Regions from separate parts of the Homo sapiens genome. Here region 2 is linked to region 1. The links are contacts of gene promoters, found by promoter capture Hi-C in human tissues and cell types (Jung and others, 2019). All regions are on one chromosome and are shown on one strand. The core of a region is centred on a gene start or on the middle of the fragment in contact, and the rest is flanking DNA. Distances in the headings are between cores, read along the strand shown.

Region 1 (6,740 bases), core at 1,618-4,117:
GGCATGTCTAATGTTCTCACCACACTGATAGGATTCAGTGCAAAGTAGCTTCATGTTTGTGCCCTCCTGGCTGAAGTGGGCTGATTAAATGGCCCACTGATGAATGGTCCTAGTTGAGATAGATCTACGACAGACAAGTAGATTTATCCTATGATAGATCTGTGTGGGGTCCTCCAGAGAAGCCCCAGGATTATGGTAGGCTGCCTGAGGTCACACGCTACCTCCCCATGGATAGGAGTGTCTCTCAGAGGGACCTAGGTCCACACTGGCCAGGACTTAGAGACTGAAATAATCCCCTACCCATACAAGTCAGCCTATCCTGGCCTCTGCTTCTCCCAGTGGAGGGTCTGGGGTGGACAGTGGCCTCTAAAGGCACTGGCAAGTCTCACCTCCTGTCAGTATGAGCTCCCACCAAGGGCAGGGACCTAATCCACACTCCAGTTCCCACCCTGGCAAGCCAGCCCTACCAGGCTCTACGATCTTGTACAAAGCTTGCTCTTCACTGGGCTTCAGTTTCCCTTTTCCGCAATAAAGGGTCCCACCAACCCATGCACTGAGAGGTTCAGTAACACCATATTCTTGGATGGCTGGGGTTGGGGGAACTGAGCCGACCAAAATCTGAGTAGCAGCTTTCTCCTAGGGGAAGCCCACCCAGCAGGGTGATACTAGGGCTTCCTCCTTGGGAGGGCAGCAGGGACTGGCTCTACTTCCCCAGGAAGACAGCTGCTCCTCCCTCACTCCTTGCAAAATACATCTCCAAGCCTTAGTTCTGGGTCTAGTCCCTGGCTGGGCCTCAGGACACCGCCATAATGAAACCATGGCCTTGCCCTCAAGGAGAACCAGACTGGCTGGGGAAGATGACACTAAGAGTAATTATAATGCAAAGTCATAAAACTGCAGGTGTCACGGGGGAGTCAGGGTCTGCTTGCTCCTGAGCTGTGTCTTCCAGGCCAAAGGAAGGAGCTGGGGGAAGGGACCCCAGGTAGAGAGGACAGCATGGGCAAACAGCGCCAGTATTGCTTGTGAGGCAGGAAGGCGCAGGCAGGAGCTGGTGGCAGGAGCCAGACCTGACTCCTGTGTAGGTTATAGGTGACCCTCTAGGTTCTAACAAATCATGGCCCTATGACCACTCACAGTGAGAAAGGGCCACACAACTCTGGCACACCACAGCCTGACAAAAACTTTTCCACACCTACCCTGGCTGTACTGTGGGATCTTGGAAATCCCTCTTGGAGAGCTGGAGGCCAAATTTTGAGATGACCTGCTTGCTGGGGCCCAGAGCTACCTTCCCAGGAGCATGGTTGGTGGCTAGCCAGTCAGGCTGGAACCTCTGTGGGTGGCCACGTCCAGATAGCTTAGCCGGTCCTCAGATCCCACATGTAGGTGTGGGCACCTTTGGGGCTGATGTGGTAGCTGGGTGTATGAATAGCTGTGTTGATCACCACAAGCTCCTGGTGAGTGTGTACCTGGGCAGGGGTGTGTCCATGGCTGTGTCATCATCATGGTGGGGACAGTGGCTGGTGTGTTCTAGGTACATGTGTGTGCCCGCTTTGGAGCGCAGCAGTCTAAAACTTTGTTCCCTGACACCCAACAGTAGCCCTGAGCTTACAAGGGGGTGCTCACCTAGGGTAAAAAGTGAAAGAGGCTATGGGACCCCGGAATGCAGGGGGAGGCTCCTGGGGTGGAAGGCAGTGGTGGGGCAGGTATTCAGGAGTCCCAGAATGCAGACAGGAGGAAGGAACTTGCTGGAGACAGCAAGGGAGAAGTAGTCTTCCCAGCACCTCCATGTCCTCTTCCTTGGCCTCACCTTCCACCCTCCCTCACTTGGCACCAGGCCAGTTGCGATAAGCACAGCCACCCAGTCCTCCCTGAGTGCAGAACACCCATTTATACCTTCTTCCTCTCTCCTTGGAGCTTCCTGAGCTCCTGTCACATCACCATGGCCAGCATCAGACCCTTTGGTTGAAGGGGTTGCTGAGGTTCAGGACAGAGTGGATGGCCAGGAATGCTCAGCTCAGGTCAAGACTCTGTCTTATCAGCATCCCCTCTCCACTGTCCCTTACCTCAAGTCTGGGAAATTTGAAGATGAGAGGCAGGAGCCAAGGTCCTTCTCACATTGGGATCCCAGACTGGGCTGAGACAGGGTTGTGAGACGATTGTGGGGGTACCCCAAGCAGGACCAGGCCAAACCCAGGGCCTCCCGAGAGTTGCAGACCATCAGGTGCCAGCCTGAGGAAAGGCAAGGATCTGCGGCTGGCTTCCCAAGAAGAGCCTACTTGCTAGCCTGGGGCAGGAGAGGGGACACCAGGACAGAGGGGGCCAGGGGCTGGTCCAAGGTTACTAGCAGGCAGGGCAGCAGGCAGGCTAGCGTAGAGTGCTCTGGGCCCAGAAGAATATCTGGGATTGTTGGCCACATCTTGGGGGACGCCGTGCCGTTAGCATCCATCTGCTCCAATGAGAACCCAGGCTGAGCCCACCCTGTGAGTTCCTCCTTTAGCCGGCCAGCCCCCGGTTTCCCAATCCACAGTGGGAATTGAGGTAAGTGTGTGGGGGCGGGGAGTGGGAGTGTCACAGCCCCACACAGAGCCTTGCTCCTGAGGTCCGTCTGCGCTCAGTCACCTCTGGCCCGTCAAGCCCTCCCAATGCCCGGCAGCTAGCACGAAGCCCCTGTTCTCCCGTGCGCCCCTCGTGGTGGCCGGGAAGGGGGCAGAGAGCCGCGCTTACCCCTGAACGCAGAGGACCATGTCCCCGCGGCAGCGGCGACTCCGGAGTGGGGACTCGGCTGGACGGCGGCGGCTGGAGGGAACCAGTGGGCGCGGAGCGCGTGCTGGGTAGGCTCCCGGGGCGCGCGGGCGCAGGACAGGGACTGAGAGGCAGTGGCGCGGACCGCCTGCGAGGGCGAGGGGGGCGGGCCAGACGAGCGGGGCGGGGCGAGCTGCTGCCTAATCCTTTGTCTGCCGCGTTCCAGCCCTTCCCGGAAGCAGCGTCTTCCTAGAACCGCGGGCTGAGCGGTGGGGCCCGGGCGGGGTGCGCGGGCCCCGTCGCCGGGTCTGGGGCCCTGAGCAGTGAAAGGAAATACTTTGACAGATTTCCAAGAACTTTCCAGGAAAACGGGGCGGGGCCCCGCGAGCTGACCAATCGCGACGCTGAAGGTGGAGCCGAGCGGTCGGGGAGGGCCAATAGCAGCGCGTGGACCCGGGGCTGAAGCTACCCAGAGGGGCAGGTCGGAGAGATCAGTGGGGAAAGACCGGGTCGGGGAAGTTAAGGAGGGGCCCGGGCTCAGCAACCCGCGCCCAGATTGCCTTCTGGCATTCTGCGTCGTTGGGGAAGGGCCCTCTTATCTCGCGGTGGAACTCGTGGCAGGGCGGGGGGCGGAGTCCCGGGCTTGTCCTCCCTGCGAGCGGCTCCTCCAAGGAGGTCTGTCGGCGTGTGCAAGCGCCCCGTGTTGGGACGGCCGCTCCTGGACCCTAGGACTCTGTGTGTCGGGTGTCGGATTGGGTGGCATGGGGTGAGATCTGGAGCGGGACTTAGGGCAGGGCGGGGTGCAGAGGACAGTTCCAGAAATGAGTGGGTCCACTGAGGTCAAGCCGGCGGTCACCACAGCCAGAAAGATCCAGACAAGAACGTTTTCTTTGAAAGAGTTGAAGGAGAAAGCACGCCCCAACTTTTCGAATCAGGCAGACCATCCAGTCTTGGCTGGCACTGGTTTCTGGCCGGCCCTGCCAGTCAGGGGAGAAGAGACTACAGATTTGAGAAAGCAAGCAGAGACAGCCCCAGATGGCCCGGACTCTGGGTTGGTACCACCCCCACCCCCCGCCAGAAAAAAAATGCTGAGAGAGAGTCCTGCAACTCAAAACATAGGGAGATAATCTGGGAGTAGGGTGATAGAGGTTGGGGCGGGATGGCGGGGGCAGAGTAGTAACACTCGCTCTTATCTACAGGGAGTACTTGCTGCATTTGATCCTCTACAACTGGTGTTGCTCCCGTTATGCGGACAGAAGACAGCCCCAGGGAACAAATGCTAGGAAATGGCAGGGTAAGAGCTTGGTCCCAGCTCTGAATCAGAAGCCCACGCTCCTACCAGGACCCTCTCCACCTTTTTTCAGTTCACTGGATTCACTATGGAGCATCTTGAAGGACTGTAGGGTCTGTGAATCTCCTCCAAACCCTTGGGCCAGAAGAACTGTGGGATTTGGAGAGGTTGCAGGGTCCACTCCCCACCCCCATCCCCCTCCCAGTGTGTGCCCCCAGGGTCCCCAGAAAGGAGTCTAGCTCTGAGATCCTGGGCAGGGATGACAGACCCCTGGCCTTGTTGAAGGGCCTGAACGATAGCATCCAGGGAAGACAGGGCTCAGTTTGCTCTGCCCAGAATGGCAGAGGGCAAAAGAAACCTGAAAGCAAAACCCTGTGAAACTGGGGAAAAAACGTTAAGTTTCAGATTTCAGGGCAGTCACTTCTCTGTAGCTTTCCTGAAGGGAAGCCGGGCTTCATGAGTGCAACTCTGCCAGCCCCCTCCTGAGTTGGCCAGAAGCCACTTTCTTGGAATGGGGGTAGGGGGGATGGATACCTTATAACCCACTTTGAGGGCTGGGATACCTGGATAGCCTGATATGCGGCCCCTGTGTGGACCACTGACTTGCCAGTAGGAACTGTCCACTGTCTCATTACTATGAAGACAAAAGGACTTTGCCGCTGCCAGGCAACAGAGTTACAATTTTGAACTTGGGTCTCTTATGGGGCCAAATCCCAAGCTCTCTACCAAAACTATACTTCTTCCCCCTCACCATGACTATTCAACTGAACACTTACTATGTGTCAAGCACTCTCAGCAATTTGCAGCCTCATGTCATTGTCACAACTACCACATATTATCTCCTCTTTACAGGTGAGAAAACTGAGGCATGGAGAGGTTACAATATAACTTAGATCTCCCAGCTGGCAAGTAATGGTTTAAGCCAGGAGCCTACACACTTCCTCCTACTTCCTCTATGGGTGCTGGTGATCTGCCGACTCCTAGACATCCAGCTTTAAGGTCCTCAGTGAAGCTTCTCTGCCCCCAGGCCTGTCCATGTCAGAGCACCATGGGTGTCCCTTTGAAAGTATCTCCTACAGGTCAGTGATTATGCAGTCTATGTGTAAACCAAAGGGTTCCAAGGGTTTTGGCCTTCCAACTATTTTTGTGTGTGTGTGAATATGACAGCACTGTGCACCTCACCTGCATGCTGGGAACAGTGATGTGCCCCTGTTCTGCCCCAAGTACTAAGTTGGGTCCCTCTGGCCAACTTAGTACTTAATTCTCCTGCCCTGGCTGCTCCCTAGAAACCCTGGCTCTGATTGCTGGGCCCACACTGCCACCTAGCGGTGCCCCCTCTCATGCCCTCACTAGCCAAATTTCCATAGATTCTTCTCTTCTAGGATAATCCCTCTCCTGCACCCCAGGGATTGAACTTACTGCAAGATTCCCCTGCCACTCCCTACCCAGAACAATCACAAGATGAATCACAAGAATACACAGCAGTGCCTTCCCAAAAGTCTCGCTCATTTGGCCTCCATCCTCTCACCATGTACAGCCTCCCCTCTCCAGTAAGGACAGAGTGTGTGTGTGTGTGTGTGTGTGTGTGTGTGTGTGTGTGTGTAGGATTTAGCCCCCCTCACTTTAAGCTATTCCAAAGTCTCTGTCCCCTTGGACACACAGCTACATGAAGGGCTGTGTGGCAGAGTCTGCCATCATGAACCCACTCCTGACCAGACCTAGCCATCCTGCATGCCAAATCCTCCCATCATTGTGGAGGGGATGCTGCAGGTGGTTGCTGGAACATGAGCACTAAGGGAAACCACATATTCTGACTTTCCTGGGCTAAGTGAGTAGTTTCAAGGCATCTCTCCGATGGACCCATGTGGGGAATGCGTGTGCCTGTGGAAGCATGGACACTGGTTATAGGGACTGGGAGGGGAGAAGCAGCACCTTTGCCTTACTTTTCATACTTCTGTATAATTTGAATTAATTACAATGAGGAAGTTTTACTTATGCAACTTAAAATTTTAATAAAAGAGACCAGCTTAAAAAATACAATTATAAAATTTGTAGAGCAATTATAATCTAATTCCATTTTAAAGAAAGAAGACATCTTCACAGAACATTCAGTGGGATGCCTTTGGCTGGGGCAAGGAGCCAGCCTCCACCCTCAGCTGCCTAGCCTTCTGCTCACCAGAATGACATCTTGCTCAGCCTCAGGTTCACCAGGCTCAAACTAGTTGCCTTCAGAGAGCAGAGAGCCTTCTTTGGCTCCCCCCAGCAGTAGAAGATTCCAGATCATAGGGCTTTCAAAGAGGCTCTGAGATCTTGAATCAGATTCTCAGGTTGGGCTCAGGGACATCAATCCTGGGTCCAGCTGGGCATAAATGCATGTGTGTGTGCACATGTGCATGTGTATCTGTGTGCATGTGTGTTATATGCATGTGTGTTTATACGTGTTATATGCATGTGTGTGCACATGTGTAAAGGTGTGACTGCATGTGTACATGTGTGAGAGTATGTTTGCACATGTGGCTGTGTGAGGAGCCAGAAAGGACTAGGAGAGGAGGCCATGGTTTGAGGATAAGAGCCCAGCCCTGAGGTTGTGCTTTGGAGTTGGAATGGGGGCTCTGTCATGACAGCTGCTGACCTCAGACAGGTCACTTAACCTCTCTGGGCTTTTCTGTCCTGTGTGTCTGTAGTGTGGGGCAGAAGGGATAGTGTG
Region 2 (6,624 bases), core at 1,864-4,363, 570 kb after region 1:
AATTAAGTGTATACTAACCCATTCTTTGGTTTCTGGGTGTATTAAAGTGTGAAGGAATGGTGAGATACCAGTGGCATTTTTACTCATTCTCATCAAGAGTGAGAAGAAGAGCTATCTTGAAATGGTTGGGGGTGGGGGGAAGAGTGAGAGGAAGAGGAATAGTAAGAGGGACTTTGGGCTGTACATCAGGGAGCTGAGACTCAGATCCCTATAGGGTCTAAATGGTATGTATTGTTTTCTCCTCTAGATTTCTAAAATTCCTTTTACCTTTAATATTCTGCAATTAAAGACATCATCCAAACCTTCAAGGAGTTAATGGTCTGATTGGGAAAACCAAACATAAATTAATTATAATACAAGATAAATAAATGATAAAATAGAAGTAAAAATAAAGTTTCACAAGAATTAAACACGAAGGAGCAGTTTATACCAGGCTCCTACTCATTCTTAGAATAGGAGGTTATACATAAGCAAGGGTTATAGATTGGAATGCCTCACACAGCAGTGGGGTAGGGTTGGAGACATTGTATAAACTCATGCCTAGCTTAATATAGGCACATACAGTTACATATTAAAAGATTTTAAATATGTTCACATACATACATTAGTATACATACAAATATTTCCTCACTTTGTCAGCTGAGAGGGCCTACAGGAAGCACTCCAATTGCAATGACCATACCTAGAGCCTAGATCTTGGTTTCTAATATCATTTTCAAACAAACAAAAAAATACAGGCCGGGGTGGTGTCTCATGCCTGTAATTCCAGCACTTTGGGAGGCCAAGGTGGGCAGATTACCTGAGGTCAGGAGTTCGAGAGCAGCCTGGCCAACATGGCAAAACCCCGTCTCCACTAAAAATAACAAAAATTAGCCGGCCAAGGTGGCAGGTGCCTGTAATCCCAGCTACTCAGGAGGCTGAGGCAGGAGAATCGCTTGTACCTGGGAGGCAGAAATTGCAGTGAGCCAAGATCGTGCCATTGCACTCCAGCCTGGGCAACAAGAGCAAAAGTCTGCTTTGAAACAAAAAAAAAAAAAAGAAAGAAAAAAAACCAGGGCTCTTTAGATAAATGGCTGAGTCTAGGACTAGAGTAGGTAATATACAAAATGATCCTGAAGCAGAAAGTGCCAGAAAGCAAAGACATGCTCAAAATTTTTTTAAAATTTTAGAAGATCCACAGTGGTGGGAGTATATCAAAGGAACATTGAAGCTAACTGAAAGAACTTCCAATGGCCAAAATTGGAACAATTTTAGCCAAAAAAAAAAAAGTTACTGAATTTTAACCCAAAGTATAAGATAAATATCCGTGAGTTGATACTTGAATAAATATGATGGAATAAATAACTGAGGGAGAAGAAACAAATCTCTTATGTAGAAGAATTTCAAGTAACGTATGCATATAGATACTCAGCCATCAAGGAGGTGGAGCATAATTCCCCACTCCTTAAGTGTGAGATGTGCGTACTGAACTCTTTCTAAAAATAACAATGTGGAAAGGGGGCTGAGGGAAACTACAGTGAAGAAACCTGACAAGCACTACTTCAACCAGATAATCAGGGATAACATCAGCAGGCAAAAGTCATGCTGATAGTATGTACCCTTGATATGATATGATGAGACTGAGACTTCATCTCTGTGATCTTCCTCCTCAAAACACATTACTTCTAATCATGGAAAAAATATGGGAACAATCCCACCTGAAAACTCTACAAAATACCTGATTATTACTTCTCAAAACTGTCAATTTTACCTAAAATGAGAAAAGTTTGAGAAACTGTCACAGTCAAGAGAAACCTAACGAGACATGATACCTCAATGTAATATGGTACCTGGATGAGATCTTGGAGCAGAAAAAAGATACTAGGTTAAAACTAAGAAAATCTGAAAAATTTGAATAAAGTATGGACTTAACTAATAGTAAATTATCAGTATTGGTTCATTAATTATGACAAATGTACAATAAAATAAAGTGTTAATAATAGGAGAAATTGGGTGCAGGATATGTGGGACCTCTCTATAATATCTTTGCAATTTTTCTGTGACTCTAAAATTCTTATAAAGAGTGCAAATAAATAGGAAAAGAATGTCCAACATTCTTTCTGTACTAAGGAGCAGAGGTCCCTTTCTTAAATATAATGGTCAAGTAGGCATTTAATAAGTAGCCTGCAAGCACCAAGTAATGAACTCTGTAAAGATCAAACAAAATGTACGTTCAGAGTTTCCATTGTATATTTTGAGGCTTTGCTTTCTTGTTCTAAGATAGTAAAGCTTCTAAGTGTCAGCTAACTGCATGTTCTCTCTCTCAGGGTAACTGATATGGCTTGGCTCTGTGTCCCCACCCAAATCTCATCTTGTAGCTCCCATAATTCCCATGTGTTGTGGGAGGGACCTGGTGGGAGATAATTGAATCATGGGGGCGGGTCTTTCCCATGCTGTTCTCATGATAGTGAATGGGTCTCATGAGATCTGATGGTTTTAAAAAAAGGGAACTTCTCTGCACAAGCCCTTTTTTTTGCTTGCTGCATACATGCATACATGTAAGATGTGATTTGCTCCTCCTTGCCTTCCACCATGATTGTGAGGCCTCCCCAGCCATGTGTAACTGTGAGTCCAGTTAAACCTCTTTGTTTTGTATATTGCCTAGTTTTGGGTATGTCTTTGTCAGCAGTGTGAAAATGGAGTAATACAATAAATTGGTACCAGTAGAGTCGGGCACTGCTGAAAAGATACCTAAAAATGTGGAAGCAACTTTGAAACTGGGTAACAGGCAGAGGAACAGTTTGGAGGGCTCAGAAGAAGACAGGAAAATGCGGGAAAGTTTGAAACTTCCTGTAGACTTGTTGAATGGCTGTGCTCAAAATGCTGATAGTGATATGGACAATAAGGTCCAGGCTGAGTTGGTATCAGATGGAAATGAGGACCTTGTTGGTAACTGGAGCAAAGATGACTTTTGTTATGTTTTAGCAAAGAGACCAGCAGCCTTTTGCCCCTGTCATAGAGATTTGTGGAACATTGAACTTGAGAGAGATAATTTAGGGTATCTGGTGGAGGAAATTTCTAAGCAGCAAAGCATTCAAGATGTGACTTGGGTGCTGTTAAAGGCATTCAGTTTTATAAGGGAAGCAGAGCACAAAAGCTTGGAAAATTCGCAGCCTAACAATGCAATAGAAAAGAAAATTACATTCTCTGAGGAGAAATTCAAGCTGGCTGCATAAATTTGCATAAGTAATGAGGAGCTGAATGTTAATCCCCAAGACAATGGGGAAAATGTCTCCAGGGCATGTCAGAGATCTTCATGGCAGCCCCTCCCATCACAGGCCTAGAGGCCTAGGAGGAAAAAGTGGTTTCGTGGGCCAGGTCCAGGGTTCCCCACACTGTGTGCAGCCTAGGGCACCTAGCCTTGGTGCCCTGCATCTCAGCTGCTCCAGCTGTGGCTGAAAGGGGCCAATGTAAACCTTGGGCCGTGGCTTCAAAGGATGCAAGCCTCAAGCCTTGGCAGCTTCCACATGGTGTTGAGCCTGCCAGCGCACAGAAGTCAAGAATTGGGGTTTGGGAACCTCCACCTGGATTTCAGAGGATGTATGGAAATGCCTGGATGCCCAGGCAGAAGTTTGCTTCAGGGGCAGGGCTCTCATGGAGAACCTCTGCTAGGGCAGTGCAGAAGGGAAATGTAGGTTCAGAGCCCCCACACAGAGTCCCTACTGAGGCACTGCCTAGTGGAGCTGTGAGAAGAGGGCCACCATCCTCCAGACCCCAGAATGGTAGATCCACAGACAGCTTGCACCCTGCTCCTGGAAAAGCCACAGATGCTCAACACCAGCCTGTGAAAGCAGCCAGGAGAGGGGCTATACCCTGCAAAGCCACAGTGGGTGGAGCTGCCCAAGACTATGGGAACCTACCTCTTGCATCAGCGTGACCTGGATGTGAGACATGAAGTCAAAGGAGATCATTTTGGAGCTGTAAGATTTGACTGCCTCACTGGATTTCAGACTTGCATGGGGCCTGTAGCCCCTTTGTTTTGGCCAAAGTCTACCATTTGGAATGGCTGTATTTACCCAAAGCCTGTACCCCCATTATATCTAGGAAGTGACTAACTTGCTTGTGATTTTACAGACTCATAGGTGGAAGGGACTTGCTTTGGCAGAGATGAGACCTTGGGCTGTGGACTTTTGAGTTAATGCTAAAATGAGTTGAGACTTTGGGGGACTGTTGGGATGGCATGGGTGGTTTTGAAATGTGAAGATATGAGATTTTGGAGGAGCCAAGGGTAGAATGATATGGTTTGGCTCTGTGTCCCCACCCAAATCTCATCTTGTAGCTCTCATAATTCCCACATATTGTGGGAGGGACCCGGTGGGAGATGATTGAATCATGGGGGCAGGTCTTTCTTGTGCTGTTCTCATGAATGGGTCTCTTGAGATCTGATGGTTTTAAAAAACGGGAGTTTCTCTGCACAAGCTTTTTTTTTTTTTTTTTTTGCCTGCTGCCATACTTGTAAGATATGACTTGCTCCTTCTTGCCTTCCACCGTGATTGTGAGGCCTCCCCAGCCACATGAAACTGTGAGTCCAATTAACCTCTTTCTTTTGTAAATTGCCCAGTTTGGGGTATGTCTTTATCAGCAGTGTGAAAACAGACTAATACAGTGACTATGGTACAGAATGATTTCTCAAGATGTGCCTTCATGTAATATGATTGTGGTAGATAACGTGGGCAGAGTGGGCATTAGTGACTTATAAGCTATTAGAGGAAAGAGCTAGACTCAGGATGAACAACGGAGCCTTCCTTTCTTTATCTGTTCCCTAGAGAAATGCTCAACATAGTCTTTTGTGCTCCTTTTTTCTCATTTGTATTTTAAACTATTTTCACTTTTTAAAATTTCTTCATGAGATGCCCTCATATCTTGGAGGCACATTAGTACGAAGTGGAAAGCAGAGAATTAATGTTATTCTAAGAGTAAATGAAGTTTATTAAATATGCTAAACATTGTAAGGCTAAAACAATATTACTTATTTAAGTAGGTTTCACTGAAGACAGCATAGGTTAAACATAGTAATTGTTTTTTAAGATGATGTAGGTTTTATTTTATTTCTACAAATGTATGAGGTACATGAGGGATTTCGTTACATGTATATAATGCATAGTGGTCAAGTCAGGGTATTTAGGGTGTCCACCACGCAAGTACAATACATTTTTGTTAAATATAGTGAATCTACTCAACTCTCAAACATTGAATTTTATCCTCCTTACTGTGTGTTTGTATCCTTTAATCCAGTTGTCTTCATCAGCTTCCTCCCTGCTACTCACTCTTCCCAGCTTCTGTTATTTATCTTTCCATTCACTACATGCATGTGATCAAATGTTTTAGTTCCCACATGTAAGTGAGAATGTCTTTTCATGCCTCATTTCATTTAAAACAATGACCTCTGGTTCCATCCATGTTACTAAAGGTAACATGGTTTTATTCTTTTCAATGGCTGAATAGTATTTTGTGTCGGGGGATGTGGGGGTGTGGGTGTGTGTATCACATTTTCTTTTCTTATCTGTTCATTCATTGAACACTTAGATTGATTCCATATCTTTGCTATTGTGAATAGTGCTGCAATAAACATGTGAGTTCAGATATCCCTTTGACATATTGATTTCTTTTTCTCTGGGTAGACAGTCAGTAGTGGGATTGCTGGATCAAATGGTAATTCTGTTTTTAGTTTTTTGAGAAATCTCCATACTGTTTTCCATAGTGGCTGTACTAGTTTACATTCCCACCAGTAGTGTATAAGAGTTCCCTTTTCTCTGCATCCATGCAAACATCTGTTATTTTTTTCTTTTTCTGACTGGGATAAGATGATAGCTCATTGTGGTTTTGATTTACATTTGCCTGATGATTAGTGATGTTGAACATTTTTGCATTTATCTGTTGACCATTTGTATGTCTTCTTTTGAGAAATTCTGTTCAGATTCTTTGCCCACTATTTTTTTTTTATTTCAATAGCTTTTGGGGTACAGGTGGTTTTGGGTTACATGGATGAATTGTATAGTGGTGAAGTCAGATTTTTGTGCACCCATCACCCGAGTAGTGTACATTGTATCCAATGTGTAGATTTTTTATTCCTCATCTCTCTCCCACCCTCCCCTTTCTGAGTCTCTAAAGTTCATTATATCACTCCTTATGCCTTTGCTTACCAAAGCTTAGGTCCCACTTATAAGTAAGAACATACAGTATTTGGTTTCTCATTCCTGAGTTACTTCACTTACAATAAGGGCTTTAGCTCTATCCAAGTTTCTGCAAAAGACATTATTTCATTTCTTTTTTAGCCAAGTAGTATTCCATGGTGTATATATACTACATTTTCTTTACCCACTCATTGGTTTATGGGCACTTAGGTTGGTTCCATATCTTTGCAGTTGTTAATTGTACTGCAATAAACTTACATATGCAAGTGTCTTTTTGGTATATTGACTTCTTTTCCTCTGGGTAAATACCCAGTTGTGGAATTTTTTGATGAAATGGTAGATCTACTTTTAGTTCTTTAAGAAATCCCCATACTGTTTTCCATAGAAGTTGTACTAATCCCACCAGCAGTGTATAAGCATTCCCTTTTCACCACATTCCAGAAAGGCTTTC

The links. Contacts are between HindIII fragments. The study calls those that stand out against the background at their distance.
Region 2: a contact is called between a fragment that was not itself captured here and the fragment with the promoter of CISH in region 1, in 3 of the 25 tissues and cell types used here (dorsolateral prefrontal cortex, heart right ventricle and mesendoderm cells).

The regions. Positions count from the first base shown.
Region 1 is chr3:50,608,907-50,615,646 of GRCh38, forward strand. CISH (cytokine inducible SH2 containing protein) reads right to left here and starts at 2,868. Exons shown (of 3, transcript NM_145071.4): 1 at 2,725-2,868. The coding sequence starts at 2,744. It also overlaps a transcript of MAPKAPK3 not described here. RefSeq lists enhancers at 1,827-2,387, 3,297-3,386 and a silencer at 2,737-3,216. The HindIII fragment of the contact is 7,054 bases long and covers 1-6,740 here.
Region 2 is chr3:51,183,293-51,189,916 of GRCh38, forward strand. All of the region lies in intron 12 of DOCK3 (dedicator of cytokinesis 3), which reads left to right. Among named protein-coding and RNA genes, the nearest start is that of MANF, 200 kb to the right of the region's middle. The HindIII fragment of the contact is 4,418 bases long and covers 905-5,322 here.